7 separate regions of the Homo sapiens genome follow, and regions 2, 3, 4, 5, 6 and 7 are each linked to region 1. Evidence: promoter capture Hi-C in 16 types of primary human blood cells and fetal thymus (Javierre and others, 2016). All regions are on one chromosome and are shown on one strand. The core of a region is centred on a gene start or on the middle of the fragment in contact, and the rest is flanking DNA. Distances in the headings are between cores, read along the strand shown. Region 1 holds the start of GLYR1 (glyoxylate reductase 1 homolog). Region 2 overlaps CORO7-PAM16 (CORO7-PAM16 readthrough). Region 3 overlaps DNAJA3 (DnaJ heat shock protein family (Hsp40) member A3). Region 4 has its middle 15 kb from the start of NMRAL1. Region 5 overlaps HMOX2 (heme oxygenase 2). Region 6 overlaps HMOX2 (heme oxygenase 2). Region 7 overlaps CDIP1 (cell death inducing p53 target 1).

Region 1 (4,281 bases), core at 745-3,244:
CATTTCTTATTTTTGTTTCCTGTCTTACTGCACTGGCTAGAACTTTCAGGTTTTAGGCAATATATTCTTATTATCTAATAGTGGTAGAAATGTACCATGTTTCTGATGTTAAGGGGAATGCCTCTAGGTTTTGGTGCAATGTTCATTTGAGATTTTTTTTTCTTTTTTCTTTTTGGCGGGGGGACGAGTCTCGCTCGCTCTGTCGCCTAGCTGGAGTGCAGTGACATAATCTCGGCTCACGGCAACCTCCGCTTCCCGGGTTAAGCGATTCTCCTGCCTCAGCCTCCCAAGTAGCTGGGACTACAGGCATGCGCCACCACGCCCGGCTAATTTTGTATTTTTAGTAGAGTACTGGGTTTGACCGTGTTGGCCAGGCTGGTCTCGAACTCCTGATCTCAGGTGGTCCACCCGCCTCGGCATCCCAAAATGCTGGGATTACAGGCTTATACCACCCTGCCCGGCCAAGATTCATGTTTTTATTTAAGTTATTAAAATCTCATTCAATTCCTCACAAATTCAGAATTTTTAAACAGGAACTTATGTTAAATTTTTATCAAATTATTCCCTGGAATCTTAAATACGCTTTAAAGATCACTTTGTCTTAAAAATACACACGCAGTAAATGACAGTCCGTGCAGCTAATTCTTGGTACTTCAGGGAAACTGATCTCCCAAGAAAAATCAGGCTGCGGGACGACCCAGTACGCTAAACACCGACTTGCAACCGAAATCTCTAACCACCACAATGCCTTGGGGAAATGCGTGTCGACTCGCCACCTTTGCCAGCTGGCAGTGACTCAACAAGAGCCCGACACCAAGTCTAAGTCAATCCTTAACACTGTGGAGTCTGTGATCGGGACTGGGATCTTTTGCAAAATTGTGATTCTACCTGGTCTGCTGAAGTTTGGGCCGACGCTGCGCTCAACTGCAGTTAACACTTCCCAGTTCATGGTTCAGTTTTAAAGTGTCCAAACTACGCCCGGCATCTGTCTTCCTGTTGTCACAACTTTTTCAAAAGTGCAAAACTAGGGCAAGGCTAACGAGAGAGCCCGGACCCGACAACGACACGCACCTTTGTCCCCAGCGCCGACGCGGGCCGCAGACGTCCCCCCGCGGCGGTCCTCATGCCGGTCCCCGGGCGGCGGCGCAGCTAGCGGTCGGCTGCTAAGCCGTGGCTCCCAGCGGGCGGGCGGCCCGCGCCTCGGCCCATGGCCGGGTCCCCGAGCCCAGGGGAGCCTGGTGTGCCGCGCCGCGCGCCGGCCCAGGAGGAAGCGAAGAAATGCCAACTCGACGTCCGCGCAGCCACTCCGGGGACACCAGGGGGTCGGGGGAGCAGCCTCCGGTCGCCCCAGGAGAACTTGCGGCGCGGGACCCCGCGCTCAGACGGCGCCTCCGAAAGCGGCCGTCGGGAGGAGCGCTCCAAAGAACACGGGCGGCGGGAGCGGACGGGCGCGGACACCGGGGCCTCCCGGCCTGCGGCCAAGCAGAGTTGCCGGGCGCGGGAGCCCAGACCCGGCGGAGGCTGAGTTCCAGGCCGCGCCGAGCTCCGTCAGGGTAGCTCACTGGCGCTGCGACGGGGCCGACCAGCGCCTCGGGCTCGGGAATGGCCCCGGGGCCCGCGCCGGACCAACGGGCGTAACGGAAGCGCCGAGAGGGGAGGGGCGCGGAGTCCAAGACCCGGGGGCGGGGCGAGCCGCGAGGCCGGCTCCCTCTCGCGCTCAGCCGGTCGCACCGTCGCCGCCGCCGCCGCCTCAGACCGCGGGCGCTTCGTTGTCACGAGCCGAAGGGAGGGGGAAGGAGCCGGGAGTCTCTGCGCTCCGGCGCGCGGAGACCGCGGCGCTCGCGTCACGTGCCCCTCGGTCGACCAATGATCCCCGGCGGGCGCGGTGACGTCAGAGTAGCGGCGTGGCCAGTGACAGCCGGCCCCCGTCACGTGGTCGGGCCCACTCCAATGGGCGGCGCCGGGGCGACTTGCTGTTCCCGGCGGCCCGTGCGTCGGCGGTGGTTGGGTGGTAAGATGGCGGCTGTGAGTCTGCGGCTCGGCGACTTGGTGTGGTGAGTCCGAGCGGCCGGGCCAACCGAGACGCGCCGGGGAGCTACCCGCCTGGGCGCGGGGTTCGCTGCCGGCCCTGGAGCTGCCTTTTTATGCGCTCCAGGTCGCGGAGAGAGGGGAAGAGAAGGTGCCGGCGCTTGCGAGCGGCGCCAGGCGGAAGGGGCAGTCCAGTCCCGGGGGACCGAGGCCGAGGGTGGCCACGTCGGGCACCGGCTTTGATCCCCGAGGCCGGCCGGGTGGGGTCTGCACTCGGGGCCCAGATACTGGCGGCCCCCGTGAAGGGAGCCGCCGGTGCCGCGAGGCTTCCCCGGACGACCGGTCCCCGGGGTCTTGTTGGGGCTTCCCAGAAAGCAGAAGCGCCGGGGACCGGACCTGCGAGATCTGGCCGGTGCCATTCGGTCAAAGCCCAGGTTGCGATGCAGCCGACCTGTGCGGCCGGCTCAGCCGGGGTTGTCTAAACCGGACTGCTGGCGTTGCCCCGCGAAGAAACGGCGGGGGGACTTCTCCTTTACAACCGATGGCTTGGCAGTGACCAGTGCACGCTTGGGTGCCTCCCGCGGTCTGCTTCTGTGTCCCAGACAACCGCCCGAACCAAGACTTTGTCGCCGCCTCCCTCGAGCTGCGTAGCTTGTTTCTCCACCCAGAGGAAGGCTTCCATTAGCATTTGTCAAAGCCAGGCAGGTCTCCTGTTGAATTAAACCAGACTTAGGGAGGGAAAGTCTGTGTTTACAGAGGAAGCTGTCCTCCCACCCCCGTCATTAAGAAGCTCTAGACAAGTGACTTTTGACAGTTGTGTTGTTCTGTATTCCTTGTCAACAGAAGAATGGATATGCGTTGTGCACATAAGTATACAATTTTGCATTTTACTTCTGAGGGTGTTGGGCCCAGCTATGAAAGCTTTTGTTTCGGCATTTGAGGATGCCAGCAGAGATTTAGGAAAATAAATTGCGTATTGAGTGGGTTGAAGGAGATGGACTGGCTTTTGCAGGGCAAGTGTTGACTCTTTGTGTTTTCTCTAGGGGGAAACTCGGCCGATATCCTCCTTGGCCAGGAAAGGTGAGTGTCTTGCTACTAAAGGAAGAGATCTGAAGTTGGGTTTGAAGAGGTGGAGAATGTAAGATGCATTCCTCTCAGTTTCTAGTATTGAGTTAAATTGGGCTCATTCAGATGGCACTTAGAATTTTTTTTCCCCTAGTATCGGTTATTTTTTAAAAGGCAATGCAGTATACACCAGATCATTAAATCTTCTCTAAACCCTTATTTCTGGATTTAGAGGAGGTTTATGAAGTTTCTTTTTTAACCCCGGAAATAATTCTAGTCTGAATTTAGCTTTATGCTTAAATGTAACAAAAGGAGAAGAAAATATAAATTATCCAGGAAGAAAGTCTAAATGTAGGTTAGTGAAAAGCCAAAGTATTTTTGTCCCAACTAAGTTTAAATCTTCTTTCCATGTTACCATATGTGCTACTCCAGTGCCTCTTTGCAGAAGTTGGCATTCCAGATTTTGCATGAGGTGATCCATCATTGCTTTCCAAATGTTGTGTTTTTATATTCTTGCTTGGAGCCCGGGAGGTGTCTTTAGATGGTCTCTTTGCAATATGGTGTTTTCTGTGCCTCGGTTGTCCTTTGTTTTCACTATGTCCTGTGTCAACCCTTCCTGCACAGGAAGTATTTCAAAGAGTGTCGTCTGCATTTTTTCAGTAATAATGGGGTCACATTGGAGCAGGGGTGGGGTGGTGGGGGGCAGGGGATGCTGTTGATCTTAGTTTTAACTGCTTGTAAAACAGGGCCACTGCAGTAAAAGGGATATTGTGTCTACTGAGCACTGTGCTACATGTTAAATATTGGGAACTTCTAGAATATCTACACATTTCCATACACCTCAATAGAAAAATGGGAGATTTAGACAAGTACTAGGCCTTGGGTTCTGTTTTGTATATAAATAAATTTATTTGTAAGTAAGTCCTTTTAATTTACTTTTTTCTTAGCAACGTAGAACTGTAGAGCAATGTGGAGCCACTAGAAAGTGGGCTGCTGTGTTGCCAGCCAACCTTTTTCCCCCCTTTTATCCTCCAGATTGTTAATCCACCAAAGGACTTGAAGAAACCTCGCGGAAAGAAATGCTTCTTTGTGAAATTTTTTGGAACAGAAGATCAGTGAGTAGTACTCACCAGGAGTCTCCCTTCGCCTTTCTTTCTGTGTTACCTGGAGTCTGAGCTGCTTTGAAAA
Region 2 (4,281 bases), core at 1,782-4,281, 500 kb after region 1:
CACAAGTCAGTGTAAGCCCCATTGCTGAGTGCCTCCCACAGCACTGTCTGTGGTCCCAGCTGCTGGGATCTGGTCCTGCCTTGGGCCAGGTTGCTGCCCAACAACGAAGTGCACATGCTGCCCCCACGCATGCCAGGATTGGATCCTGTGCTTCTGACTGCTGCTCTCTGACAGCCGCGTGGCCTGAAGTTGGATGCCAAGTCAGCTGGGTCCTCTCACCTGGGACCCTCAGGCCCAAGTGTCAGTCGGTGGACTATGGGATGTTTGGAGCCTCTGGGAGGGGCCTCAGGCAGTGGTTGTTTTGGTCACCCATGGTAGCCACAGCTGGCAGAGCTCTGCTCCCTGTGAATGAGCTCTGAACTCAGCCTGACCCATGGCAGAAGCTCAGGGGATGTTGGGGTACTGGATAGGTGGATGAGGGGCTTGCCTGCACCGCCTAGTTCTGGACCTGCCGCTGTTTGTCCATGTGGTGTTAATGGGCATTGCCTCCTGAGGGCCTTACTGTCCTCTTGTGAGGAGGGTGTTATTCTCTCCATCTTGCAGTTAAGAAAACTGAGGTAGGCTGGGCACAGTAGCTCACACCTGTAATCCTAGCACTTTGGGAAGCCGAGGAGGGCAGTTCATGCGAACCTAGGAGTTCAAGACCAGCCTGGGCAACATGGCGAAACCCCATCTCTCCAGAAAAGTACATTTAGCCAAATGTGGTGGCGTGTGCTCAGCCTCCAGAAGTTATGAAATTTCCACCTACTTGTGAAATCCTAACCCACTTGTGTTTGTTCATTCCCCTAATGGCCCATATCACATCCCGCCTGTTAAGGAAAGAGCAGGTCCTCGGAGGCTGAGTACAAGTAGCTCCAGCTACTCGGGAGGCTTAAGCAGGAGAATCTCTTGAGGCTGGGAGGCTGAGGCTGCAAGTGAGCCATGATTGCACCACTGCACTCCAGCCTGGACGACAGAGTTAGACTCTGCTTCCAAAAAAAAGGCCAGGTGTGGTGTCTCATGCCTGTAATCCCAGCACTTTGGGAGGCCGAGGCGGGTGGATCACCTGAGGTCAGGAGTTTGAGACCAGCCTGACCAACATGGTGAAACCTCGTCTCTATTAAAAATACAAAATTAGCTAGGCTTGGTTGTGTTCACCTGTAATCCCAGTTACTTGGGAGGGTGAGGCAGGAGGATCGTTTGAACTGGTGAGGTGGAGGTTGCAATGAGCCGAGATTGAACCACTGCACTCTAGCCTGGGTGACAGAGCGAGAGTCAGTCTCAAAAAAATAAATAAAAAATAAAAGACCCAAACCAAAACAAAAAAAGATTCAGAGAGGTTGAGTAATTTGTCCAGGGTCACACAGCTATTGAGAAAGAAAGCTAGGGTTCTGGTCCCAGGTCAACGTGGTTCTCGTTCTGCTTCCTTGCTGCTTCCCAGCTCCCTGAGGGAATGTAGTATGGTGTTTTGCAGCCTTCACCCCTGAGGAAGCAAAGGGCCTGTATCAAATGAGCTGCTATTTTGAAAGAAGCTTTGTTACTTCATAGTGCCTGGTCATTGTCAGATTTTGTGAAACAGTAGTAATGAATGAAAACCAATGTTTATTGAGCACCTGCTGTACCATTAGGCTGTGTGCCAGGCATTTGACAGGCATTATCTCAGCTTTATTGGTGGCCACATTTTACAGGTAAGCAAACTGGGTTGCTCAAAGGAGTTGAGAACGTGTCTATGTCAGATAGCTGGGATTTTTGCACACAGGTGATCCCAAAGCCTGCAGGTGTAACCATTACACTACACTGCGTCTTCTCAGAGATGCCTCCTATAGGAACCTTGCTGGCCTCAATGGGCCGTCCAGTCTGCTGAAACTTTGCAGGCCAGCCCCCCTCTGCCCTGCAGCTCTAGGCAGCTGAAGCCACAGGCCACCACGCCGCTTTGGTTTGAAGTGTGCAGGGGATGGTCGGGGAAGCTCCCCAGTTATGACCTCAGCTCTTACCGTTCATTATTTTGCAACAGTCATTGGCCTTGGCAGAAAAGTAAACAAGTGATTGCAAGGCTGTACGATGGCAGCAGAGGGACCGAAGGCTGTTGGTGTGAGGGGTAGTCTGAGACCTGAGCCGTGTTTCAAGCCGAGGGGACCCTCTGACTTTCACCTCTGTCCTTCAGACAGCACCAGCATCCCATCCCTGAGCCTCCTGTTCCACTCGGGAGGGGCTTTAGGAAGGAGGCGAAGTCAGGTGAGACCGCAGGTGTCATCAGGTGCATCCCTGACCCTCCCTCATCTGCAGTACAGCCACAGCCCTGCCCCTCGCTGTGATCACAGGAGGGTCTTCTCTGGGCTCTTTCTGCTGTGAAATCCAGAAGTTATGAAGTTTCCACCTACTTTTGAAATCTTAACCCACTTGTTTGTTCATTCCCCTAATGGCCCATAATGACATCCCACCTGTTAAGGAAAGAGCAGGTCCTCGGAGGCTGAACAAGGCCAGCTCTGGAGTCGAATCCACTGGAATCTGGAGCAAGCCCCTCTGGCCTCGGGGTTGGGTTCTTGATACTTGTCGGCTTGCCCAGGTGCCCTACCTTCAGACCCCGGGACCCTGCGTAGTGACTGCTGTGACAGATAGCACCAGCCTTGGGTTTCCGATCTGCCTCCGAGGCACCTGCTGTTACGTCCTCGGGCCAGTCAGCAGTCCCCCACCCCTGAGTTGTCAGAATTAAACGGCACAATGAATTGAACGTGTTTGGCACCGTGCCTGGTGTGTGGACTCAGTTGATACTTGTTGACTGAAGGCAAATCTACAGAAAAGCACTAGGAAGAAAGGGAAAGTCACTCGGCTGTGCCACATGAGCTTTCAACCTATGCCGAGCTGCCTCCAGCCCGCGCCACCCCCCTGCGTCTACGGCTTTGCAGTCACAAGATCCTTTGTATGTGCTGTCTATATATAATCGCTTTGTTTCACAAAGATCTGTGCATCTTTCCATGTCATCCGCCAGATTCCCAGTCTTTCCCAGGCCAGCCTAGGCTATTGGCTGCTCGCAGGAACTCCCTTCTGCCTTCTCTCCTGCCAGTTTTGGCTCAACCCAGTCCCTCTGCCTAGAAAGCCCTAGTATTTCCATCATGATTCTTCCTACCCTGCAAAGCCCAGCCCAGGAGGAACCCCCTCCTCTCACGGAACCCCCTCCTCTCACAGAACCCCCTCCTCTCACACAATCCCCTCCTCTCACACAATCCCCTCCTCTCACAGAACCCCCTCCTCTCACGGAACCCCCTCCTCTCACAGAACCCCCTCCTCTCACGGAACCCCCTCCTCTCACGGAACCCCCTTCTCTCACGGAACCCCCTCCTCTCACAGAACCCCCTCCTCTCACGGAACCCCCTCCTCTCACGGAACCCCCTCCTCTCACAGAACCCCCCCTCACACAATCCCCTCCTCTCACGGAACCCCCTCCTCTCACAGAACCCCCTCCTCTCACGGAACCCCCTCCTCTCACACAGTCCCCTTCTCTCACAGAACCCCCTCCTCTCACAGAACCCCCTCCTCTCACAGAACCCCCTCCTCTCACACAGTCCCCTCCTCTCAGAGAACCCCCTCCTGTCACACAGTCCCCTCCTCTCACAGAACCCCCTCCTCTCACACAGAACCCCCTCCTCTCACACAGAACCCCCTCTTCTCACACAGAACCCCCTCCTCTCACGGAACCCCCTCCTCTCACAGAACCCCCTCCTCTCACACAGAACCCCCTCCTCTCACAGAACCCCCTCCTCTCACGGAACCCCCTCCTCTCACGGAACCCCCTCCTCTCACGGAACGCCCTCCTCTCACACAGAACCCCCTCCTCTCACCGAATCCCATCTCAGTCTTGAGTTTTCCCTCGACTCTGTTGCTTCCGCTCACATCTTAGTGAGTCCCCAGGGCCTCTGCGGGGCATGGAATCACACGTGCAGTGTTCCGGCATGTTCAGCCTGGTGTGTGACAGTGGGGTTCCCTGCCAGGCCAGCAGTGTGCTCTGACTCGGGGCAGGGACCAGGTTCTGTGTAGCTTTGTGCTCAAGTGCTGAGCAGAGTAGACTCTCAGCAGATGTTTGAATGAATGGGTGAACCAATGGCTGCACAAATGAACGAGCCTGACTCTCCCTCATGATTTGGTCCATAGTGTGTTTAAATACCCTCCTAGTGGGCTTTTAGCTCCTTGAAGATGGAAACAGGTTTGCATAGTAAGTTTGTTTTATTGAATGGAATGGACTTAAAGTCTTCGGACTTGGGAGAATTAGGACAGATCTGTTTCCCCGTTGGTAAAGTAAAGGTT
Region 3 (4,281 bases), core at 1,115-3,614, 420 kb after region 1:
GTAATCCCAGCACTTTGGGAGGCCGAGGCGGGTGGATCACTTGAGGTCAGGAGTTCGAGACCAAGCTGGCCAACATGGTGAAATCTTGTCTCTACTAAAAATACAAAAATTAGCCGGTCATGGTGGTGCACGCCTGTAATCCCAGCTACTTGGGAGGCTGAGGCATGAGAATTGTTTGAACCTGGGAGGCTGAGGTTGCAGTGAGCCAAGATCGCGCCATTGCACTCCAGCCTGGGCGACAGAGCAAGACTCCACCTGAAAAAAAAAAAAGAGAAACAACTCTAGGAAGCCTGGGAGACTACTCGAAGTTAATCAGCACAAAACACAACCAGAGGTTGGTTGAGCACATCCAAGTAGGAGGCCAGGTAAAGGATGATCAGACAGGAGAATGGATAGGAATGGTCAGGATACTTAAAATTAGAAATAGGAAATAAATCCGTGTGTTTGGCACACCCAATATCCTCGGGATACAAAAAGCACACTGGAAGTAGTAGGGGTCAGGAGACCACTTTGTGTTTCTTCAGTCAGACTTGAGAAAACACTAGACCTGACTTATTATTGAACTTGTACTCAACCCTCTTTTTATTTCGGAGTAAGGGGTTGCCCGGCCCAGTCCAGCCTCTCTCTCACCACTCATTCCAATGCCACAAGGCGGAGGCTGGTAGTGACCTGTGGCAGCTGTGGCTTCAACATTACGGGCAGAGAACACGGACAGGAGTTAGTACAGAGATAGTAACGCACAAAACTGCATGTGGATAAAGACAAATCACGTTTAATTACAAGACTGATGGCTTTGTTTTTTCTTTTTTTGAGACAGAGTCTCACTCTGTCACCCAGGCTGGAGTGCAGTGGTGTGATCTCGGTTCACTGCAACCTCCATCTCCCAGGTTCGAGCGATTCTTCTGCTTTAGCCTCTCAAGTAGCCAGGACTATAGGCGCACACCACCACACCTGGCTAATTTTTGTATTTTTAGTAGGTAAGAAGTTTCACCATGTTGGCCAGGCTGGTCTCGAACTCCTGACCTCAAGTGATCCGCCGGCCTCATCCTACCAAAGTGCTGGGGTTACAGGCATGAGCCACCATCCCCAGTCTGATGACTTTTGACATTATCCATAGGGCATCAATGATTAACAATAATTAGATTTCATTTAATAGACTATTTATTTTATCACATATGACCAGTAAATGTCCTGTCCTTTTTAGAACAACCCAGAATAAAATAAGCCTCCAAGTCGTTCTAAGAATGGCCAACCCACTGTCCAACAACTGCTTTCTTTTTTTTTTTTTTTGACAGGGAGTTTGGCTCTTGTTGCCCAGGCTGGAGGGCAGTGGCGCGATCTCGGCTCACTGCAACCTCTGCCTCCTGGGTTCAAGCGATTCTCCTGTCTCAGCCTCCCGAGTAGCTGGGATTACAGGAACCCGCCACCACGCCTGACCAACTTTTTCTATTTTTAGTAGAGACAAGCTTTGGCCATCTTGGCCAGGCTGGTCTCAAACTCCTGACCTCAGGCGATCAACCCACCTCCCAAAGTAATGGGATTGCAGGCATGAGCCACCATACCTGGCCACCAACAACTGCTTTCTTTCTGCTTGGAAGAAAAGTCACATCTAAAATGTTGTTATGTCATCTTACTACTAGATTTGAGACAAGATCACAGACTAGTGTTTGGACGCTGAGTTAATGACCTTTTCAAAATTTTTTTTTTTAAGAGACAGGGGTCTCATTATGTTGCCTAGGCCAAATTCAAATTCCTGGACTCCAGCAATCCTCCCACCTCAACCTCCTGAGTAGCTAGGACTATAGAGGCTCGCCACCACATGGCTTCTCAGTTGATGACTTTATTAATTTTTTGGTAGAGAAAGAGTCATACTCTGTTGCCCAGGCTGGAGTGCAGTGGCATCATCATGGCTCACTGCAGCCTCAACCTTCTGGGCTCAAGTGAAACTCCCACCTCAGCCTCCCAAGCAGCTGGGAGTACAGGCAGTTGCCACCATAGTTGGCTAATTTTTTTTTTTTTGAGACACAGTTTCGCTCTTGTTGATCAGGCTGGAGTGCAATGGCGCTAACTCGGCTCACGGCAACCTCCGACTTTCACGTTCAAGCAATTCTCCTGCCCCAGCCTCCCGAGTACCCGGGTTTACAGGCATGCGCCACCAGGCCTGGCTAATTTTGTATTTTTTGTAGAGACGGGGTTTCTCCATGTTGATCAGGCTGGTCTCAAACTCCTGACTTCAGGTGATCCGCCCGCATAGGCCTCCCAAAGTGCTGGGATTACAGGCGTGAGCCACCATGTCCGGCCACAGTCAGCTAATTTTTAAAAATCTTTTTGTAGGCCGGGCGCGGTGACTCACACCTGTAATCCCAGCACTTTAGGAGGCTGAGGTGGACAGATCATGGGTAAAGAGATCGAGACCATCCTGGCCAATATGGTGAAATCCAGTATCTGCTAAAAATACAAAAATTAACTGGGAGTGGTGGCACGTGCCTGTAGTCCCAGCTACTCAGGAGACTGAGGCAAGAGGATCACTTGAACCCAGGAAGCGGAGGATGCGGTGAGCCGAGATCACGGTGAGTCAAGATCATGGTGAGCCGAGATCGCACCACTGCACTCCAGCCTGGCTACAGAGCAAGACTCCGTCTCAAACAAACAAACAAAAAAAATCTTGGCCGGGCGCGGTGGCTCACACCTGTAATCCCAGCACTTTGGGAGGCGGAGGCGGGTGGATCACGAGGTCAGGAGATCGAGACGTCCTGGCTAACACAGTGAAACTCCATCTCTACTAAAAATACAAAAAATTAGCTGGGCGCGGTTGCAGGTGCCTGTAGTCCCAGCTACTCGGGAGGCTGAGGCAGGAGAATGGCCTGAACCCGGGAGGCGGAGTTTGCAGTGAGCCGAGATCGTGCCACTGCACTCCAGCCTGGGCGACAGAGTGAGACTCCGTCTCAAAAAAAAAAAAAAAAAAAAAAAATCTTTTTGTAGAGATGGGATCTGCCTATGTTGCCCAGGCTGGTCCCAAACTGCTAGGCTCATGTGATCCTCCTGCCTCAGCGCCAGCATAGCGCTGGAATTACAGTCGTGAGCCACCCCGCCCAACCAGTTGATGACTCTATCTGTGAAAACAGCACGTACCCTGAAGGATGCCACCTCTCACCTGTGTACACTACCTGATATAAAACTTGCCCATGGCAGGTTATGAGCTCACTTGGGGAACAAGACAGCTAACCGCAGTTCCTTAGTCACAGCTTCACACAAAGCTTAGTGTTTAGTGCCTGTTTCTCTCTTTCACATACACAATAATAACGAGTGCTCCCAAATTTGTACAGCTGGAACATGAACAAATTTGGCTTAATAAAACAAGTCACCTAAGGATTAATATTTGAATGAAAAGATGCAGCCAGATTCTATTTAAAACAACCTTGACATTAGAAAATGTTAGCAAGCTCTAAAAATGGCCACTTTTGCTCATGTTGAAAAATCTAGCCTGGCATGGTGGCACACACCTATAAGCCCAGCATCTTGGGAGGCTGAAGTGAGCCAGGATCACATCACTGCAATTTGGCCTGGGCAACAGAGCAAGAGTCCATCTCAAAATAAAAATAAGGCCGGTCGCGGTGGCTCAAGCCTGTAATTCCAGCACTTTGGGAGGCTGAGGCGGGTGGATCACAAGTTCAGGAGATCGAGACCATCTTGGCTAACACGGTGAAACCCTGTCTCTACTAAAAATACAAAAAATTAGCTGGGCGTGGTGGCGGGCGCCTGTAGTCCCAGCTACTCAGAAGGCTGAGGCAGGAGAATGGCGTGAACCCGGGAGGCGGAGCTTGCAGTGAGCTGAGATAGCGCCACTGCACTCCAGCCTGGGCAACACAGCGAGACTCCGTCTCAAAAAAAAAAAAAATTCATTCTGTTGGCCAGGTGCAGTGGCTGATGCCTGTAACCCCAGCACTTTGGGAAGCTGAAGCAAGGGAATCACTTTAGCCCAGCCTGGGTAACATGGTGAAACCCCATCTACAGAAAACTAGCTGGGTGTGGTGGTGCATGCCTGTAGTCCCAGCTACTCAGGAGGCTGAGGATGGAGGATCGATTGAACCTGGGAGGTCAAGGTTGCACTGAGTTGTAATTGTGCCTCTGCACCAGTCTGGGCAACAGGAGGCCCTGTCTTAAAAAATAATTAAATACATAAATAATCATTCTCTTAACCAAACACACATCCAATCTCTTTGTTCTCTGCCATCTCCTCAGTGCCCAGAACAGTGGCTGGCATACAATTGGCCTCAATTA
Region 4 (4,281 bases), core at 147-2,646, 390 kb after region 1:
GAGTGACCTAAACGTGTTTAGTCAGACAGGTGTGAAGTGGCCTGTTCTGACCTCAGCTAGCAGAACAGCTCTGACCAGCAGCCTCTGTTCCCACATTTGAAATTCATTCACAGACGGGGACATAGCACAGGACACAGAGGAGCCCCAGGAGCCGAGCTTCTGACACACCCCTTTCATCTCCAGAGCTAGTGAGGCCATCTGCACATGTGAACTGGAGACAGGCTCTGCAGGGAGGCGGGGGAGATATGGGCTTCTCCCTTTCTCTCCTCATCCTTGTCCTGGAAGGAGCCGGCCTTGGGGTACCATCCTGGACACAGGTGAACTTCAAACAGGTTGGAAAAAGGAAAATCGGATGTGGCAGAGCTGTGGTCCACAACGCACAGTAATTGGACACTGCTGGGAAGCAAAACTGAAGGAGAAACAACCCACCTTGCTTGCTGGGGTGGGTCACAGAGAAGAGGGTCAGAGGCCGAGAGACCAGTTATTTGCCTGAGAGTTTGTGGTCCATGGCAGCTCCGATTTTTTTTTTTTTTTTTTTTTTTGAGACGGAGTCTCCCTCTGTCACCCAGGCTGGGGTGCAGTGGCACGATCCCAGCTCACTGCAGCCTCCACCTCCTGGGTTCAAGTGATTCTCCTGCCTCAGCCTCCCGAGTAGCTGGGATTACAAGCATGCACCATCACGTCCAGCTAATTTTTGTATTTTTAGTAGAGACGGGGTTTCACCATATTGTCCAGGATGGTCTCGATCTCTTGACCTCGTGATCCGCCCGCCTCGGCCTTCCAAAGTGTTGGGATTACAGGCATAAGCCACCGCGCCTGGCCAATTTTTTTTTTTTTTTTTTTTTTTTTTAAAGAGTCAAGGTCTCGCTCTGTTGCCCAGGCTGGAGTGCAGTGGCACAGTCATAGCTCACTGCAGCCTTCACCTCCCAGGCTTAAGTGATCCTTCCACCTCAACCTCCTGAGTAGCTGGGATTATCGTACAGGTATGAGCCACTGAGCCCAGCAGTTCTGTGAATTTCAATTCAACACATTTAGGTTTGTGTGACTACCATCACAGTTTTTATTTTTTTACTTCCCCACCCTGGCTCTGGCACCCCCAGGCACAAAAATTCATTCTATCCATTGACTGAAGCATTTCTTTGACAATTTACCAGTATGCTGGGCCCTAAATACAATGTAGCAAAAAAAGTTATGCTGCCTGCCTTGAGGAGCTTATATTTAGTGGGAGAGCCTGATAGAAACACACAATAAATAGTTATGTATCTACGCCTGTAATTCCGGCACTTTGGGACGCTGAGGTGGAGGATGGCTTGAGTTCAGGAGTTCGAGACCAGCCTGGGCAACATAGCAAGACCCCATCTCTACCTAAAAAAAAGAAATACAAAAGAAACTAGGGCCAGGCGTGGTGGCTCATGCCTGTAATCCCAGCACTTTGGGAGGCCAAGGCAGGTGGATCAGTTGAGGTTGGGAGTTCGAAACCAACTTGGTCAACATGGCAAAACCCTGTCTCTACCAAAAAATACAAAAATTAGCTGGGCGTGGTGGCGTGTGCCGGCAGCTACTCAGGAGGCTGAGGCAGGAGAATCAGCTGAACCCAGGAGGTGGAGGTTGTGGTGAGCCGAGATTGTACCACTGCACTCCAGCCTGGGCGACAGAGGGAGACTCTGCCTCAAAAACAAAAAAACAGAAGAAATGGTGGCAGGCGTGGTGGCATGTGCCTGTACTCCCAGCTACTCAGGAAGCTGTGGTAGGAGGATCACTTGAGCCCAGGAGGTCAAGGCTGTGGTGAGCTGTGATTGCACCACCACAAGCCAGCCAGGGCAACAGAGTGAAAGCCTGTCTCAAAAACAAAACAAAACCCAAAAAACAAATTGACATAAGGGCTGCAAAAAACAAAACAGGAAGGATAAATAAATGGGGACAGGAGCAGCATCGGGGGAGGTGACCAGTAAGCTAAGGTCTGTGGATCATGCCCTTGGCCATATAACTATGGACCCACTTCGCCTTTTATGTTCCCCCCTGGCCCATTTGTGACCCTTGAAGAGTCATGAGAAATAAGCAGAACTTCTAGTTAAAAGATAAGACCTGCACAGTATTTATTAACAAGCAAGAGTGTGAAACAAGCCTCTTCCAGGAGCCGTGCAGCTGCCGTCCTCCACATCAGAGCCGGCTCTGCAGTGCTACAAACACAGAGGGGCAGGGGCAGCTGGAGGCCTGTGGGCCTGGAGAGAATTCTTGCACACTGTTTGGTTGACAGGGAAGGAAACAAAGGCCAGGCCACCAGAACCCAAAGGACTATGAGTGAGGAGGGGGCTCAGGTTGGAAACAACCCAGTCCCAGGCCTGAGGTGGGAATGGGGCTGAGGACCAATGCCTGAGAGCTGGCCTTGTCCACCCTCCTAATGTTTTTTTTGAGATGGAGTCTCACCCTGTCACCCAGGCTGGAATCCAGTGGCGCAATCCTGGCTCACTGCAACCTCCACCTCCAGGGTTCAAGCGGATCTCCTGCCTCAGCCTGCCGAGTAGCTCGGATTACAGGCGCCCACCACCAAGTCTGGCTAATTTTTGTATTTTTAGTAGAGACAGGGTTTCACCATGTTGGCTAGGCTGGTCTTGAACTCGTGACCTCATGATCCGCCCACCTTGGCCTCCCAAAGTGCTGGGATTACAGGTGTGAGCCACCACGCCCGGCCCACCCTCCTAATGTTTAAGCAAGTGCCAAACATGTACCTCCCACAGGCTCACAGGCCTAGAAATACTTTATTTTCTTGAGACATGGTCTGGCTCTGTCACCTAGACTGGAGTGGAGTTGCATGATCACAGCTCACTGGAGCCTTGAACTCCTCAGCTCAAGCAATCCTGCCACCTCAAGATTTCTAAGTAGCTGGGACTACAGGTGCCAAGCCACCACTCCCAGCTAATTTTTTAGAATTTTTTTGTAGAGATGGGGGTCTCACTCTCTCGCTCCTGGGCTCACACATTCCTCCCTCCTTGGCCTCCTAAAGTGTTCAGATTACAGGCGTGAGCCACCATGCCTGGCCCTTTTCTTATATTTTTAAATACATACTACTACTCAGAAGCTATAAAGAAGTCTGGTAACAAATACATCAGGAGCACAAGTGGAAATAAACCAAACCCAGGCCCAGAAAGAGCACTGAATTCTACAGCTGTTGCACGGCCACCTTTTTTTTTTTGAGATGAAGTCTCGCACTGTCGCCCAGGCCGGAGTGCAATGGCATGATCTCCAATCACTGCAACCTCCACCTCCTGAGTTCAAGTGATTCTCCTGTCTCAGCCTCCTGAGAAGCTTGGATAACATGCATGTGCCACCACGCCTGGCTAATTTTTTTGTATTTTTATAGAGACGGGGTTTCACCATGTTGGCCAGGCTGGTCTTGAACTCCTAACCTCAGGTGATCCACCCGCCTCAGCCTCCCAAAGTGCTGGGATTATAGGTGTGAGCCACCTCGCCTGGTCATGCACAGCCACCTCTAATCCCTTGAGGGAAGGATGCTTCAACACAACAATGGTTTCTGTTTAGCAAGAAAATCCACCTTTCTCTTCCAAAGTCTTTCTCTAGACTTCTGCTTTGAAGCAATAGGACATGAATGAGACTCAGGGTGACTGTTCCAGGAATAAGCCCAAGCTTTCACAAGAGACACGGTCTAGCTCCCCACTGCTGTATCCCCAGGAACTAGAATAGGGCCTGGTCCATACTGAGTGTCCACAGTAGGCAGGCAATCAGTATTTCATTGATGAAAATACTGGGAAGTATCTGAGATGAGCAGAATGTCACTGCTGAGCCTCTCCTGTCCGTCAGCTCTTTCCCGAGTCTCTTCTCCACCTGACCCAGCAAACAGACTCTCATCTCACCCTGCTCAGCCCAGAGTGCCAGAGTGGACTGAGCTGTGTATCAGGGCCCCTCTAGCCACGCCAGGCATAGAGCGTGGCTGGGAACCCAGAGTAGCCAAACTATAATACATAAAAATTTTGGTCAGGCATGGTGGCTCACACCTGTAATCCCAGCACTTTGGGAGGCCGAGGTGGGCGGATCACCTGAGGTCAGAAGTTCAAGACCAGCCTGGCCAACATGGTGAAACCCCCCATCTCTACTAAAAATACAAAAATTAGCCAAGCGTGGTGGCATGCACCTGTAGTCCCAGCTACTCAGAAGCCTGAGACAGGAGAATCGCTTGAACCCAGGAGGCAGAGGTTGCAGTGAGCAGAGATGGTATCACTTCACTCCAGTATGGGCGACACAGCGAGACTCCATTTAAAAAAA
Region 5 (4,281 bases), core at 740-3,239, 360 kb after region 1:
CATGTTGTTCTCTAGGGAAGGGGTCAGCCACAAAAAGGCAATAGTTATACAACTTTGTAACAAACCCACATCCTGTATCTATGTACATTTTAGAGGAAACACCAAGGCCTTAGGTTATCATTATTGCAAAGGAAAATGCTACAGTTATCATAATTTACTGAAAAAAAAATAAAAAATCCCAGCAGTTTGCTGTAAAACTGTGTAACTTCCTGTCACAATCTTCTCCAATGGGGCAGCACCCACAACTATACACATTAAAGTGAAGTTTAATGTCCAAGAGTTTAATTCCTTTAATTCCCAAGAGTTCCCAGAACTGGTCAAACATCATTATCTCCATTAATCATTATTCAGAGGAAATTCAAATAGCCCAGAACATCAACTACTGACTGAGGACATGATTAGGCAACAATGAATGAATAGCTTTAGAAAAAAGCAGACATAATGGAAAAGGCAACTGTCCAACAGCTCAGGCATTCTCCAGGGCTGTGAGAGGTATACTCAAGCCTGTTTTTTTTTTTTTTTTTTTTGAGATGGAGTTTCCCTCTCGTTGCAGCGAAACAATGGAGTGCAATGGCACGGTCTGAGCTCACTGCAACCTCTGCCTCCCGGGTTCAAGTGATTCTCCTGCCTCAGCCTCCTGAGTAGCTAGGATTACAGGCATGCAAAACCACACCCGGCTACATTTTTTTTTTTTTTTTTTTTTGAGACAGAGTTTCGCTCTTGTTGCCAAGGCTGGCATGCAATGGCGTGATCTCCCCTCGCCGCAACCTCCGCCTCCCGGGTTCAAGCAGTTCTCCTGCCTCTGCCTCCCGAGTAGCTGGGATTACAGGCATATGCCACCGCGCCCGGCTAATTTTTTTTTTTTTTGAGACGGAGTCTCGCTCTGTCTCCCAGGCTGGTGTTCTCAGCTCACTGCAACCTCCGCCTCCCGGGTTCACGCCATTCTCCCACCTCAGCCTCCCAAGGAGCTGGGACTACAGGCGCCAGCCACCACGCCCAGCTAATTTTTTGTATTTTTAGTGGAGACGGGGTTTCGCCATTCACAGGATGGTCTCGATCTCCTGACCTTGTGATCCACCCGCCTCGGCCTCCCAACGTGCTGGGATTACAGGTGTGAGCCACTGCGCCCAGCAATTTTATATTTTTAGTAGACATGGGGTTTCTCCATGTTGGTCAGGCTGGTCTCAAACTCCCAACCTCAGGTGATCCGCCCGCCTCGGCCTCCCAAAGTGCCGGGATTACAGGTATGAGCCGCTGGGCTACGCCTGGCTAATTTTGTAGTTTTAGAGGTCAGGCTGGTCTCAAACTCCTGATCTCAGGTGATCCGCCCACCTAGGCTTCCCAAAGTGCTGGGATTACAGGCCTGAGCCACTGTGCCCAACTTCTTTTTTTTTTTTGAGACAGGGTCTTGCTGTGTTGCTCAAGCTGAAGTGCACTGGGTCAATCAGAGCTCACTGCAGCCTCAACTCCTGGGCTCAGGTGATACTTCCAACTTAGCCTCTCGAGCAGCTGAGACTACAGGCATTCACTACCATGTCTAGCTAATTTTAAAAATTTTTTTGTAGAGACAGGGTCTCACTATGTTGCCCAGGTTGGTCTCGAACTCCTGGGCTCAAGCAATCTTTCTTTGGCCTCCCAAAGTACTGGGATTACAGGCGTGGGCCACCACGCCCAGCCTCAAGCCCTTTTTCAAACAAAACCCTACACAAATGGCCAATACAAAAAGGAAATAAGTGAGCTTCCATACTTAAAATGAGGAGGGAAAGAGAAAGGGGGCCAAAAGGGACTGAGCTCAGCTCCTCATTCCCCTCAGGACCTTGAGCTTGGCCTAGTTTGCTCAGCTGTGGTCTAGGAGACATAAGATATTCAATTAAACATTTGCTGGCTACCATTTCCCACTACCTGTGCTAAGTGACCAGTGGCTCTGGGCACGGTCTCTTATCTTAGGCCTGTATGTCCAAATCAACAGTGGGAAGCTGGGCCTGGATTAGCCACTGTTCCCAGACCTGACCTGCCCAGAGTTTTCTGGCAGCTAGGCCAGAGCTCCCTCTACTCTTTCACATATCATTTCCAGTTGCCCACTAGTTCCTTGAAAAGTTCGTGACCTTCCAAAAAACCATGTAGTTTCTGTGTCTTCAACTCACCTCATCCCCAGCATTGGTACTGAGCTCTAACCCTGTATTAGGGACAGACATACTCTAATCAGCTGTCCTTGACAGACCTTGAGCTTCAAACACTTCTGCCTCACCCACACTAGCCAGTTAAGTTGCTGTGGCCTCAGCAGTCCTCTCCTAGGAACCAGATTAGACCACTGCCTACACATGGGGACACGCTGTCCTTTGGACAAGTACTCAGGCAAGTCCCTTGACAGTTGGTGTTTGGTAAAAGGCTGTTTGTTTACAAAGGAATGTCCTAGGGTTTCTGTCTTTAATCTACTCAAATACTTCCTTTTTTGAACACAATTTGTGTTTGAAGACACAAATTAAGAGATGTGTACTTTTGAAGATGGGAAGAAAGGGTACTTGTCAGAACAATCCTTATCCTTTTTTGGTTGCAAATCCCTTTCAGAATCAGAGCAAGGCTTCAGATTCTCTCTCCAGGACAATCGTATGGTTTAAAAATGTTGCCTGTGGCCAGGCATGGTGGCTCAAGCCTGTAATCCCAGCACTTTGGGAGGCTGAGGTGGGTGGATCACCTGAGGTCAGGAGTTCGAGACCAGCCTGGCCAACATGGTGAAACCTTGTCTCTACTAAAAATGCAAAAATTAGCCGGGCGTGGTGGCAGGTGCCTTAATCCCAGCTACCTGGGAGGCAGAGGTAGGAGAATTGTTTGAACCCGGGAGGCAGAGGTTGCAGTGAGCCGAGATCAAGCCATTGCACTCAAGCCTGGGGGACAAGAGCGAGACTTCTCTCAAAAACAAAAACAAAAATAAAAACAAAAACAAAAACAAAAAAATCAATCCCTGTTCTAAAAGGAGTCTATCAGTGACATTCTCTTTTTATGGGTAAAGTTTTCAGTAAGACCCTGAGTGCTCTAAGAAGGGTTTCTTCTTTCTTTGGCCTCCTTCCTTCTCTTCCCTTCCTCCTCTGTCCTAATGGGTTCAGTACAAGTTCTCCCATTTTCTCCATTTCTCCACTCTTTAACTTCCCTGGCCTCTCAAAACTCTCATAAACCTTACAAAGTGATTTTACTGTTTTGTGTCTTCCCACAGTTACTACCAGCTCCTAGTAAACAAAGACTATGCTTGGTTTGTTGTTGTATTTGCACATCCCCTCAGTGCCAATACTCTGCATACCTTAGAAGCTCAATACAGTACAGTCAGCCCTCCATATCCATGGGCTCTGCATCAGTGGATTCAACCAACCTCAGATTAAAAATATTCAGAAAAAGGCCTGACATGGTGGCTCACCCCTGTAATCATAGCACTTTGGGACGTGGAGGTGGGTGAATCACTTAAGGTCAGGAGTTCGAGATCAGCCTGGCCAACATGGTGAAACCCGGAATCTGCTAAAAATATAAAAATTAGCCGGGGGTTGTGGCAGGCACCTGTAATCCCAGCTACTCGGGAGGCTAAGGCAAGAGAATCGCTTGAACCCAGGAGGTGGAGGTTGCAGTGAGCCAAGACTGCGCCACTGCACTCCAGCCTCGGTGACAGAGTGAGATGCCGTCTCAATCAACCAATCAATCTTCAGGGAAAAAAAAAACAACAGATGGCTACATATGTACTACACATGTACAGATTTTTTTTCTTGTCATGATTACCTAAACGATACAGTATAACAACTATTTACATAGCACTGTATTGGGTATTATAAATACAGATGATTTAAAGAATACAGAAGATATGCATAGGTTATATGCAAATTCTATACACCATTTTATATAAGAAACTTAAGCTGGGCACAGTGGCTCATGCCTGTAATACCAGCACTTTGGGAGCCCGCGGCAGGCGGCTCACCTGAAGTCAGGAGTTCGAGACCAGCCTGGCCAATATGGTGAAACCTCACCTCTACTAAAAATACAAAAATCAGCCAGGCGTGGTGGTGCACACCTGTAATCCCAGCTACTCGGGAGGCTGAGGCAGGAGAATCATTTGAACCCGGGAGGTGGAGATTGCAGTGAGCCGAAATCGTACCACTGCACTCCAGCCTGGGTGACAGTGCAAGACTCCGTCTCAAAAAAAAAAAAAAAAAAGAAAAGAAAAGAAACTTGAGCATCCTGGATCTTGGTACCCTTGAGGGGTCCTGGAACTAATCTCCACAGATACTGAGGGATAACTAT
Region 6 (4,281 bases), core at 622-3,121, 340 kb after region 1:
TAGTACCCACGTCCATGTGTCTGTGTTGGGAACCACCCAAATGAGCAATGCTTTGCTTCTGTGGCCACCTAGTGGTCGAAGAGACACACATCTGTATTCCCTTCAGTATTTGCTGGCTTCTCTAAGAACAGCCTGCCTTGGAACGTGTCTTCTGGAATTCACACACCTCAGTAAGGCTGTGACCATGGGTCTCCTCAGATGGCCCTACTGCCTTCCTCCCACCTTGGACCCACAGCTTCTTTGAGACTATATGTGACTAGGACCAAGCACGGAAGGATGCAAAGGAGACAACCGAGAGGCTAGGGCCAGGACGCTGGGTTTGTGCTGCTTAACGAAATTACACAGTTGTAAAGGTGTGTGGATGGATGGACAAGGTAGAAAACATGTGATCCTAAAGATGGTGGTACTTGGGCAGGGGCTTACATGTGTCCACACAATCCATCTACAAGAGTGAGAAAAATTTGGCCTTATCATGGTCTGGCTTCTGCTGTCTTCTTTAGGAGATTAGCTCGTTATCATCCATGTGCTGAGAATCAATTTATTATTAGCAATTATTTCAAGGGATAAAAAAAAAACTTGGCCAATGACAGGGCTATGAGAGGCTAATGATGCAGAACAGGGCCTGGAAGCTCAGGTTTAGCATGAGCTGTCCCTATACAGAGTAAGGAAAGGCTGCCCTGCAGTCTTTTATGTGGTAAAAGACTGAACAGAGCCAGCTTTGCCTGCGTTTACCCTTTCTCAGCCCAGATGAGGAAACGCACAAGTTTTTAAAAAGAAAAAAGGATAACTACCATCAAATCCTATCAGCACTCCCAGGAGCACCTGCCCTGCCTCCTTGGATGAGACAATGGACCAGTGGGGAGAGTTCTAAGCAGCCGAAGCTGTATGCGGTCCCTGCAGGGCCAAGCAGGCACCCAGGGGTCCAGAGCTCATGGCCCATGGCCACTCCCCAGTGCTGCCAACAGACAAAACCAGGTGTGCTGAGCACGACAGGTGCTGGGCCCACCTGATTCAGTGCAGCCAGCCCCCATCGCTCACCTCATTTGGTTCTCCTTTTCTAGGGCCCCAGAGTTCTTTTTTTCTGACTCGTCTACCCCCTCTGAGGTTTCCACTTCCGCTGACATTGCTGCTGGGTGTGGTTCTTGCTGCTCTCGCTCCTCTGGTCCTGCAGAGACACAAGGAGCTGGTGATGTGGCACCCACGGCAGTCACTTCCCCAAATACCTGTCGGTTCTGCTTTCCTCAGAGCGAATGTAACCAAGGTGACACCCACACACCCCAGGATTGTTTTCTTTAAAATAAAGCTCTGCCATTACTGGGACCATAGTGGAATATGGAAAAAATCTGAATATGAACAATGTATTAGGTAATAGCATTGTATTGACATTAAGCTTGCTGGTTTTTAAAAATAATTGTACTGCGATTATATAAGAGAATGTCTTTGTTCCTAAGAAATACACACTGGGGTATTCAGAAGTAAAGGTACACTGCCTGCAACTCCCTGTCAGATGGTTCAGAAGACAGTGTGTGTGCATGTGCATATGCTGCAGGGTGGGGGACACTGGCAAGTCAGAAAAGCAAACAAGGCAAAATCCTAGCAGTGAATCTGGGGAAGAGGTATGAGAGTTCTTTGTACTATTCTTACCATTTTTCTGTATGCTTAAAACTGTATCAAGGCAGGGCACAGTGGCTCATGCCTGTAATCCCAGCACTTTGGGAGGCCGAGGCAGACTGGAGTTTGAGACTAGCCTGGTTAACATGGTGAAACCCTGTCTCTACTAAAAATACAAAAAATAGCCGGGCATGGTGGTGCACACTTGTAATCCCAGCTACTCGGGAGGCTCAGGCAGGAGAATCTCTTGAGCCCAGGAGGCAGAGGTTGCAGTGAGCCGAGATCACGCCGTTGCACTCCAGCCTGGGCAACAAGAGCGAAACTGTCTTAAAAAAAAAAAAAAAAAAAAAAAAAAGACCGTATCAAAATTAAAAGTTAGGCCAGACACGGTGGCTCATGCCTGTAATCCCACCACTTTGGGAGGCCAAGGTGGGTGGATCACCTGAGGTTAGGAGTTTAAGACCAGCCTGACCAACATGGAGAAACCCTGTTTCTACTAAAAATGCAAAATTAGCCGGATGTGGTGGCGCGTGCCTGTAATCCCAGCTACTCAGGAGGCTGAGGCAGGAGAATCACTTGAACCTACGAAGCAGAAGTTGCAGTGAGCCAAGATCGCGCCACTGCACTCCAGCCTGGGCAATAAGAGTGAAACTCTGTCCAAAAAAAAAAAAAAAAAAAAAAAATTGAAAGTTACCAAAAACAAAGAAAACCTCAAAAACCTTAGGGAAACAAAAAGCTTGGCAAGCAACGCACAGTTCCACCCCTCTGCAAGCGTGCTGAGGCCAGTTCATCCTACCTGTGAGAGGCTGGGTGCCTTGTGCAGAAGGCAGCCTACAGGAGTTACCAAAAAAGCAGACTGTCCCTAGCCTACTCAGGACTTTGCTAGGCTGAAGGAAATATTAAGTTGGCCAATCAATTCCCATTGCCTGCTGCAAATGCTGAGCCTTTGTCAGCCAGGGAAACACAGTCCCATAACAAGGCAAGCTCATCCTCCATCCCTCGGGGCTTCTGCTCAGGCAATGTAAGGCGCAGCCCATTTGGGGAATCTTCCACATGAATAGCAGCACAGTAGCACCGACAACTAATAAAGTAACTCACAAAGACAGAACTGGGGCCAAATCAGGCCAAACTGGGCCAAGGAAAAAGAACTTATTTACTGAGCATTTTCTATGTGCTCTACCCAGAAACAGGTGTCAAGAAGAACACAGAAGTGTTAAGAAATGGTCCTTAAAAGGCCCAAGGCACATATCCTTCCTGAGTTTTCTCTAGATACCTAGTTACATTTTTGTTATCTTTTAGGATATTATAGTACATGGTTTGCTCACTGAGGTCTTTTTGAACCATCTCTCTCACCTTTAGATTTAGCATCTCTACTGGGATTATTTTAGGAAGTCAAGCAATAACTCATATAGCACAATGCCTACCATGTGATAAGCACTCAATGAATGTTACATCATGATCATACTTTATTTTGACTGAGGCTTAGTGATGTCTGAGAACACTCAGAAAATAAACATCGGGATGTACAGAAAAATGGAACCTTCTCTTGACTCCAAATCAGAGACACTCTACTCTGCAATAATGCTGATGAACTGTACGATGCACAGCACAGTCTAGAAGAATGTGAAAGCAGGCAGGTATTACATGCAGGGAAGAGTATGCAGAGGGCTTCCTGGGGCAGGACCCTCAACACAGACAGGATTTGGGGCAGGGCTGGGGGAGGGCCTCCAGATCAAGGGAATATTATGAACAAAGCCAGAAATGGGTAGTTCACAGAGATAGCATAAGGCTGCCCAGCTGTGCGTCCACTTACCAAGGGGCAAAAACAGGCATTGCAAGCTGTAGAATAAGCCTCACATGGGCCTTCAGACCTTGATTTATAAATGTTTTCTTTTTTTTTTTTGGTAAAAGTACAGCTTTGCTAGCCGGGCGCGGTGGCTCACGCCTGTAATCCCAACACTTTGGGAGGCCGAGGTGGGCAGATCAGGAGGTCAGGAGTCCGAGACCGGCCTGGCCAACATGGTAAAACCCTGTCTCTACTAAAAATACAAAAATTAGCCAGGCATGGTGGCACACACCTGTAATCCCAGCTACTCAGGAGGCTGAGGCAGGAGAATCGCTTGAACCTGGGAGGCGGAGGTTGCAGTGAGCCGAGATGGAGCCACTGCACTCCAGCCTGTAATCCCAGCTACTTGGGAGGCTGATGTAGGAGGATTTCTTGAGCCTGGGAGACAGAGGTTGCAGTGAGTCGAGATCATGCCACTGCACTCCAGCCTGGCCGACAAAGTAAGACTCTGTCTCAAAAATAAATAAATAAAATACTTTAAATAATAAGAACAGCTTTGCTGTACACCCTTGAGGACCCTGAGAGCCAAAATTTGTCTCTGGCTGCTCAGTTCTCAGGCAGCAGAGAAAAAGGTGCTGGGATGAAAACACTGAGCTATCTAGAGGAGGGAGGGGTGCAGTAAAGGGTCCTGGAGCCTCTAGATGGGTGATGGAAGTAAAGGACCAGGCTGAGGGCACACACACACCAGGCTGAGGGTCCAGGTACCCCAGGACCACAGGCCCCATGCTTCTTACAGGCAAAATGAGGCAAAGACAAGTGCCATCCATGGCCCAGGTTACCAACTGCAGTAACTTCAGCGTGCTTCTTGCCATTTGCACCTACTT
Region 7 (4,281 bases), core at 494-2,993, 320 kb after region 1:
CTGAGTCTTGGGAGGGCTCAGCCTCACTAGAGGCTGCTCTGCAACTGAGTGGACCTTTGTGGAGGGCCTCCTCTTTCCTGCTCATCACCCAGCGTTGGGAATAGGGTCCCTCTGGTCAGCTGCGAAAGGCCACAGGGAATCCTGGCCTGGTCCCACATGGACTTGGGTGGCTGGATTAGCCCCAGGTTTGGATAGGGCATGGTGGAGAGGGGAGTGGAGAGGGTTTGGGGCCCAGGAGCAGTCTCACAGCAGGGGCTCCCTTTTGAGCACCTCCTCACTTGGAGCACTTCCTTCATGTCCCTGTGCTGGGCACCTGCATCCAAACAGTGCATGCTCTATTAACGTTCACTGCACGCCATCGTCCTCCTCAGCTCCTCCTTGAGCCAGTGCTCATGCTGAAATGAGCACTGGAGTTGCAGAAGAATGTGTCCTCGCTCCAAGGCAACCAGCTGCACTTCTCTCGGGGCCTGTTTTAACTACGGAAGCATCTGCTCCAGCCTTCCCGCCAGGGAGTATTCCCCATGCCTTGGCCTCTGTACTGGCTGAGGCTGTGTCATGTGACCTAAAGAAAGCCATGATCCTTTTGATCATGGATCACTTGAAGAGAACTTGTGTTCCTTCAGACCTAAGGAACTGTAGAGATATATTTTTGTGGTGGAGGGGGGATAGAGTCTCACTCTGTTGCCCAGGCTAGAGTGCATTGGCGTGACATAGCTCTTTGTAGCCTAGAATCCCTGGGCTAGAACAATCCTCCCGCCTCAGCCTCCCAAGTAGCTGGGACCACAGGTGTCTATCACCATACCTGGCTAATTTTATTTTTTTGTAGAGATGGGATCTTGTTATGTTGCCCAGGCTGGTCTTGAACTCCTAGCTTTAAGCAGTCCTCCCACCTTGGCATCCAAAGTGCTGGAATTACAGGTGTGAGCCACTGCACCTGTCTGTGCTGTATATTTGTAATGACACTTGTTAATACTTAACCTGAAAATAATTTACCAATAATTAACCAGTAAACCAAGTTTTATTACTCATGTGGAAGATGTGGGAGGTGGTCAGTTAGTTGCTGGTGTGGTGTCCCATGGCTGTCCTAGGCACTGGCCTCCATCCCAAGGCCCTCATGGTGAAGCACAGCTACTGGAGCCATGGCATCTATCTTCCAGGTGGTAGATGGGAGGAAGGCAGGAAAGATGAAGGGCCTGGCTCCGGGCTGAGTCGGCTTGCCCTGAATGCCTTCTTATGGTCTGGACACTTCTGCTTACAGCTCATTAGCCAAAGCTTTGTCACTCTAAGAAAGCTCGGGGACCCTCTTGGTTGATGGACTTGCCCTGAGTGAAAGTGGAGTTCTGTATTCAAGAATGGGGGAGAGAGTGGATTTGGGTGCAGCTGGCAATCTCCAGTCTGTACTTCATTAGGCGGAACATTGCTGTTTGAGATCTTGTTATTCTGCCTTCTTCCTTTGCAGTGTGATGTGGAGGAGCACAGCACAGCTCTGTATGGGTGGTGGTATCTGCGTAGTAATTCATGGAAGGCGTCTCCAGCAATACAGCCTGGACATCTACATGTGGGATTTTGTTCAGCCTTCCAAGAACCTCATTTTGCACGTGGGGAAACTGAGGCTCAGAGAGGTTGAGGAATTTGTCTAGGGCTGCAGGCCATCAGCGGCGAGGCAGGGTCCCAGGGAGACCTGTGCTCTCCCAATATTCTATTGACAGTCAAGCAAAGAAGACCGCTGTCTTTGTTTCCAAGTGCCACAATGCAACAAGGCTGAATGGTGCCGGAGGTCTCCTGGGGAAGCCTAAAGCCTGAGGAGAAGGGCCTGGGACACTGTCCAGCTGGCCTTGTCATCCTTGTCCTGGAGATCTGAGGTATTTGAGCTCTGGAACAAACCCTGTGGCTGGGTCGCTGTGAGGGCCCCAGGCTGCCATCTGGCCACCCTCAGGGGCACATCCCTCCTTCCTTAGGCCTTGTGTACTCACTGTTCCCTCTGCTGTCCCCATCCCTCCCTTTGCCTGCTGGTCTCATTAACTCTTCCGCCACCTCCTCCCAGGTTTGCTTGAAGAGATGGTGTTAGAGCTCCAGAACGGCGATCTTGCTGTCCTTCTACTGTGCCCTGGACTTTCTCGATACCACTGGTCACAGATGTAATTGTGTTTGTGGTTTTTTGGCGAGGGGGGTGATTATTTAACGCTCATCCTCTTCACTTGACCGTAAGCTTCTGGAAGGCAGGGACATGTCTTTTTTTTTCTTTCTTTGAGATGGAGTCCCGCTCTGTCGCCAGGTTAGAGTGCAGTGGCGCGATCTTGGCTCACTACAACCTCCGCCTCCTGGGTTCAAGTGATTCTCCTACCTCAGCCTCCTAAGTAGCTGGGATTACAGGCACGTGCCACCACGCCCAGCTAATCTTTGTATTTTTAGTAGAGACGGGGTTTCACCGTGTTGGCCAGGATGGTCTCGATCTCTGGACCTCGTAATCCGCCCTCCTCAGCCTCCCAAAGTGCTGGGATTACAGGCGTGAGCCACTGCGCCCAGCCAGGGACGTGTCTTTAATCCCCAGCCTGTATCTGGCACGGAGGATGTGCTGAGTAACTATCAGAAGGAAGCACCATCCCCCGCCCTCCCCTTAGAGGGCCTCTGTTACGTGGTCACCTCACAGACTGTGCTTCAGCCCAGCCCTGGGGTGCTTGGGAGAATAGGCGGAACAGCTACGTGGTCAGCGGCCATCCCTTGCAAGTAACAGTCCCCCTCCTAATGACCCTCACGCTGCATGGCCCGTTACAGTGGTTCAGTAAGTTTTTATATCCATGCCTTACTTAATTCTCACACCGCCCTCCAAGGTGGGTTTGAACTAATCCGTCTGTGTGTTGGATGGAGATGTCACAGGATGGAAAGGCCTAGTGTGGGCCAAGCCTCCCTGGAAGGGTCCCCTTCAGGCCTGCACCCTTGGTGGGGATTCTGTGCTCTCCTTTTCCCGCTGCCCTGTCCCTGCAGGGTGCTGCTATCTGGACTGAGAGCATCTTCCCTGAGGCCCACGTGAGCTCCTGCTTGCTTCTGGCTCACTTCTTGCTTTGGCCTTTTCCTCCAGACCTGGTTTGGGCCTTGCCATTCTCTTTTCAGACCCAAGAAGCACAGAGAGTGTTTGTCTTTTACCTCGGCTCTGCCCCTCATGGAGCAGTGGGCACCTCCTTTATTCAGCACATGGAAGCTGCAGGCAAGGCAGAAATCGGCCTTTCAGTTTTCCCAGCAAAGCAGAAAGCCCTGTTCCTGGCTGGATGCCTGGGACCTGCCTCCTGGGGACAGAGGAGCCCCTCTGAGGCCAGCTGGCGTCCTGACGCCATGGCTGCCACGTGGGTAAGCACCTCCTGGGGATGCAGCACCAAGCCAGCCCAGCTCTGAGAAATGTGTCTGGGCAGCAGCTGCTGCAGAGCCCCTGCCACCAGGGTGTATTGGTGGAGCATCCTTCCAGGGGCATTGCCAACCTTGGGCACTCCCAGGCAGGCCCCTGGCATTTCCACAGCCCACCAGGAGAGATGGCCCTTGGAGGACTGCTAGTGTCTCTGCCTTCTCAAAGAGTTGTCTCGGGTTACCGTGGAGCAGGTGGCCCAGCTGAGCTGTGCTGTGAGGGAACGCTGCTGAGCTGAGTTCTTAGGGAGGGTTTTGATTGCAAGTCCCTCCAGAATCCGGTAGAGGCATCCCCTTGTAGTCATATTAGTGAACATGCACCAGGACCCCTCGTTGGGAATCAGAAGGCACTCCATGGCAGAGGCGTCAATACCTGTTGTTTTCCTCCCTGTTGGAAGTTGCCTAATAAAGCATAATAATAGCAGTTTCCATTTATTTAGCGTCATTGTGTGCTAGGCCCAGCGTTTCTGCTGCAGGCGTTTCACACACAGTCTCTCTTCAACCTCACTCCCACCCTGAGAGGTAGGCATGATCATCTCTGTTTACAGAGGAAGAAACCGAGGCTCAGCTCGCTCAGCTGGAAAGTGGTGGGTCTTGGGGGTCTGGGTTTGAATTAAGCTGATGCAGAGCGGGCCCCCCCGCCTTTTTTTTTTTTTTTTTTTTTTAATATTGATGACGTCTTGCCATGTTGTCCAGGCTGGTTTCGAACTCCTGGGCTCAAGTAATCCTCCCGTCTCGGCCTCCCCGAGTGCTGGAATTACAGGCCTGAGCCACCACACCTGGCCCAGAGCCCATGTTCTTGACTGCTTGTTTCATTTAAAGCCTTCCACCGGGTGGCAAGCACATCCCTGGGGTGGGGCCTTGCCAGAACAACAAACTCAGGGC

Evidence for each region. Contacts are between HindIII fragments. The CHiCAGO score rates a contact against its expected background, and 5 or more counts as called.
Region 2: a fragment that was not itself captured here is called in contact with the fragment with the promoter of GLYR1 in region 1 in 4 of 17 cell types (neutrophils, monocytes, total B cells and 1 more); the score reaches 11.0 in neutrophils.
Region 3: a contact is called between a fragment that was not itself captured here and the fragment with the promoter of GLYR1 in region 1, in 7 of 17 cell types (neutrophils, fetal thymus, total B cells and 4 more). The highest score is 9.8, in neutrophils.
Region 4: a contact is called between a fragment that was not itself captured here and the fragment with the promoter of GLYR1 in region 1, in 1 of 17 cell types (erythroblasts). The highest score is 5.3, in erythroblasts.
Region 5: a contact is called between a fragment that was not itself captured here and the fragment with the promoter of GLYR1 in region 1, in 3 of 17 cell types (neutrophils, erythroblasts and fetal thymus). The highest score is 8.3, in neutrophils.
Region 6: a fragment that was not itself captured here is called in contact with the fragment with the promoter of GLYR1 in region 1 in 1 of 17 cell types (erythroblasts); the score reaches 5.8 in erythroblasts.
Region 7: a fragment that was not itself captured here is called in contact with the fragment with the promoter of GLYR1 in region 1 in 3 of 17 cell types (endothelial precursors, M2 macrophages and megakaryocytes); the score reaches 6.3 in endothelial precursors.

Annotation. Positions count from the first base shown.
Region 1 is chr16:4,845,001-4,849,281 of GRCh38, reverse strand. It overlaps GLYR1 (glyoxylate reductase 1 homolog), which reads left to right and starts at 1,994. Exons shown (of 16, transcript NM_032569.4): 1 at 1,994-2,054; 2 at 3,072-3,108; 3 at 4,129-4,208. The coding sequence starts at 2,017. UBN1 (ubinuclein 1) reads right to left here and starts at 1,801. Exons shown (of 18, transcript NM_001079514.3): 1 at 1,072-1,801. RefSeq lists silencers at 1,121-1,210, 1,221-1,940 and enhancers at 993-1,835, 2,131-2,190, 2,491-2,550. The HindIII fragment of the contact is 6,120 bases long and covers 1-2,951 here.
Region 2 is chr16:4,343,719-4,347,999 of GRCh38, reverse strand. The region is part of intron 27 of CORO7-PAM16 (CORO7-PAM16 readthrough); the gene reads left to right. The region is part of intron 1 of PAM16 (presequence translocase associated motor 16); the gene reads left to right. Among named protein-coding and RNA genes, the nearest start is that of PAM16, 5.5 kb to the left of the region's middle. RefSeq lists an enhancer at 151-651 and a silencer at 2,866-3,066. The HindIII fragment of the contact is 3,035 bases long and covers 1,514-4,281 here.
Region 3 is chr16:4,427,573-4,431,853 of GRCh38, reverse strand. All of the region lies in intron 1 of DNAJA3 (DnaJ heat shock protein family (Hsp40) member A3), which reads right to left. Among named protein-coding and RNA genes, the nearest start is that of DNAJA3, 3.8 kb to the right of the region's middle. The HindIII fragment of the contact is 1,791 bases long and covers 1,469-3,259 here.
Region 4 is chr16:4,457,137-4,461,417 of GRCh38, reverse strand. No RefSeq gene overlaps it. Among named protein-coding and RNA genes, the nearest start is that of NMRAL1, 15 kb to the left of the region's middle. RefSeq lists a silencer at 1,683-1,883. The HindIII fragment of the contact is 3,824 bases long and covers 1-3,308 here.
Region 5 is chr16:4,484,374-4,488,654 of GRCh38, reverse strand. All of the region lies in intron 1 of HMOX2 (heme oxygenase 2), which reads right to left. All of the region lies in intron 1 of LOC124903636 (a long non-coding RNA gene), which reads left to right. Among named protein-coding and RNA genes, the nearest start is that of HMOX2, 10 kb to the right of the region's middle. The HindIII fragment of the contact is 7,136 bases long and covers 1-4,281 here.
Region 6 is chr16:4,502,368-4,506,648 of GRCh38, reverse strand. It overlaps HMOX2 (heme oxygenase 2), which reads right to left. Exons shown (of 6, transcript NM_002134.4): 2 at 1,039-1,165. The coding sequence starts at 1,124. Among named protein-coding and RNA genes, the nearest start is that of HMOX2, 28 kb to the right of the region's middle. The HindIII fragment of the contact is 957 bases long and covers 1,393-2,349 here.
Region 7 is chr16:4,521,481-4,525,761 of GRCh38, reverse strand. The region is part of intron 1 of CDIP1 (cell death inducing p53 target 1); the gene reads left to right. Among named protein-coding and RNA genes, the nearest start is that of CDIP1, 15 kb to the left of the region's middle. RefSeq lists an enhancer at 2,990-3,854. The HindIII fragment of the contact is 937 bases long and covers 1,275-2,211 here.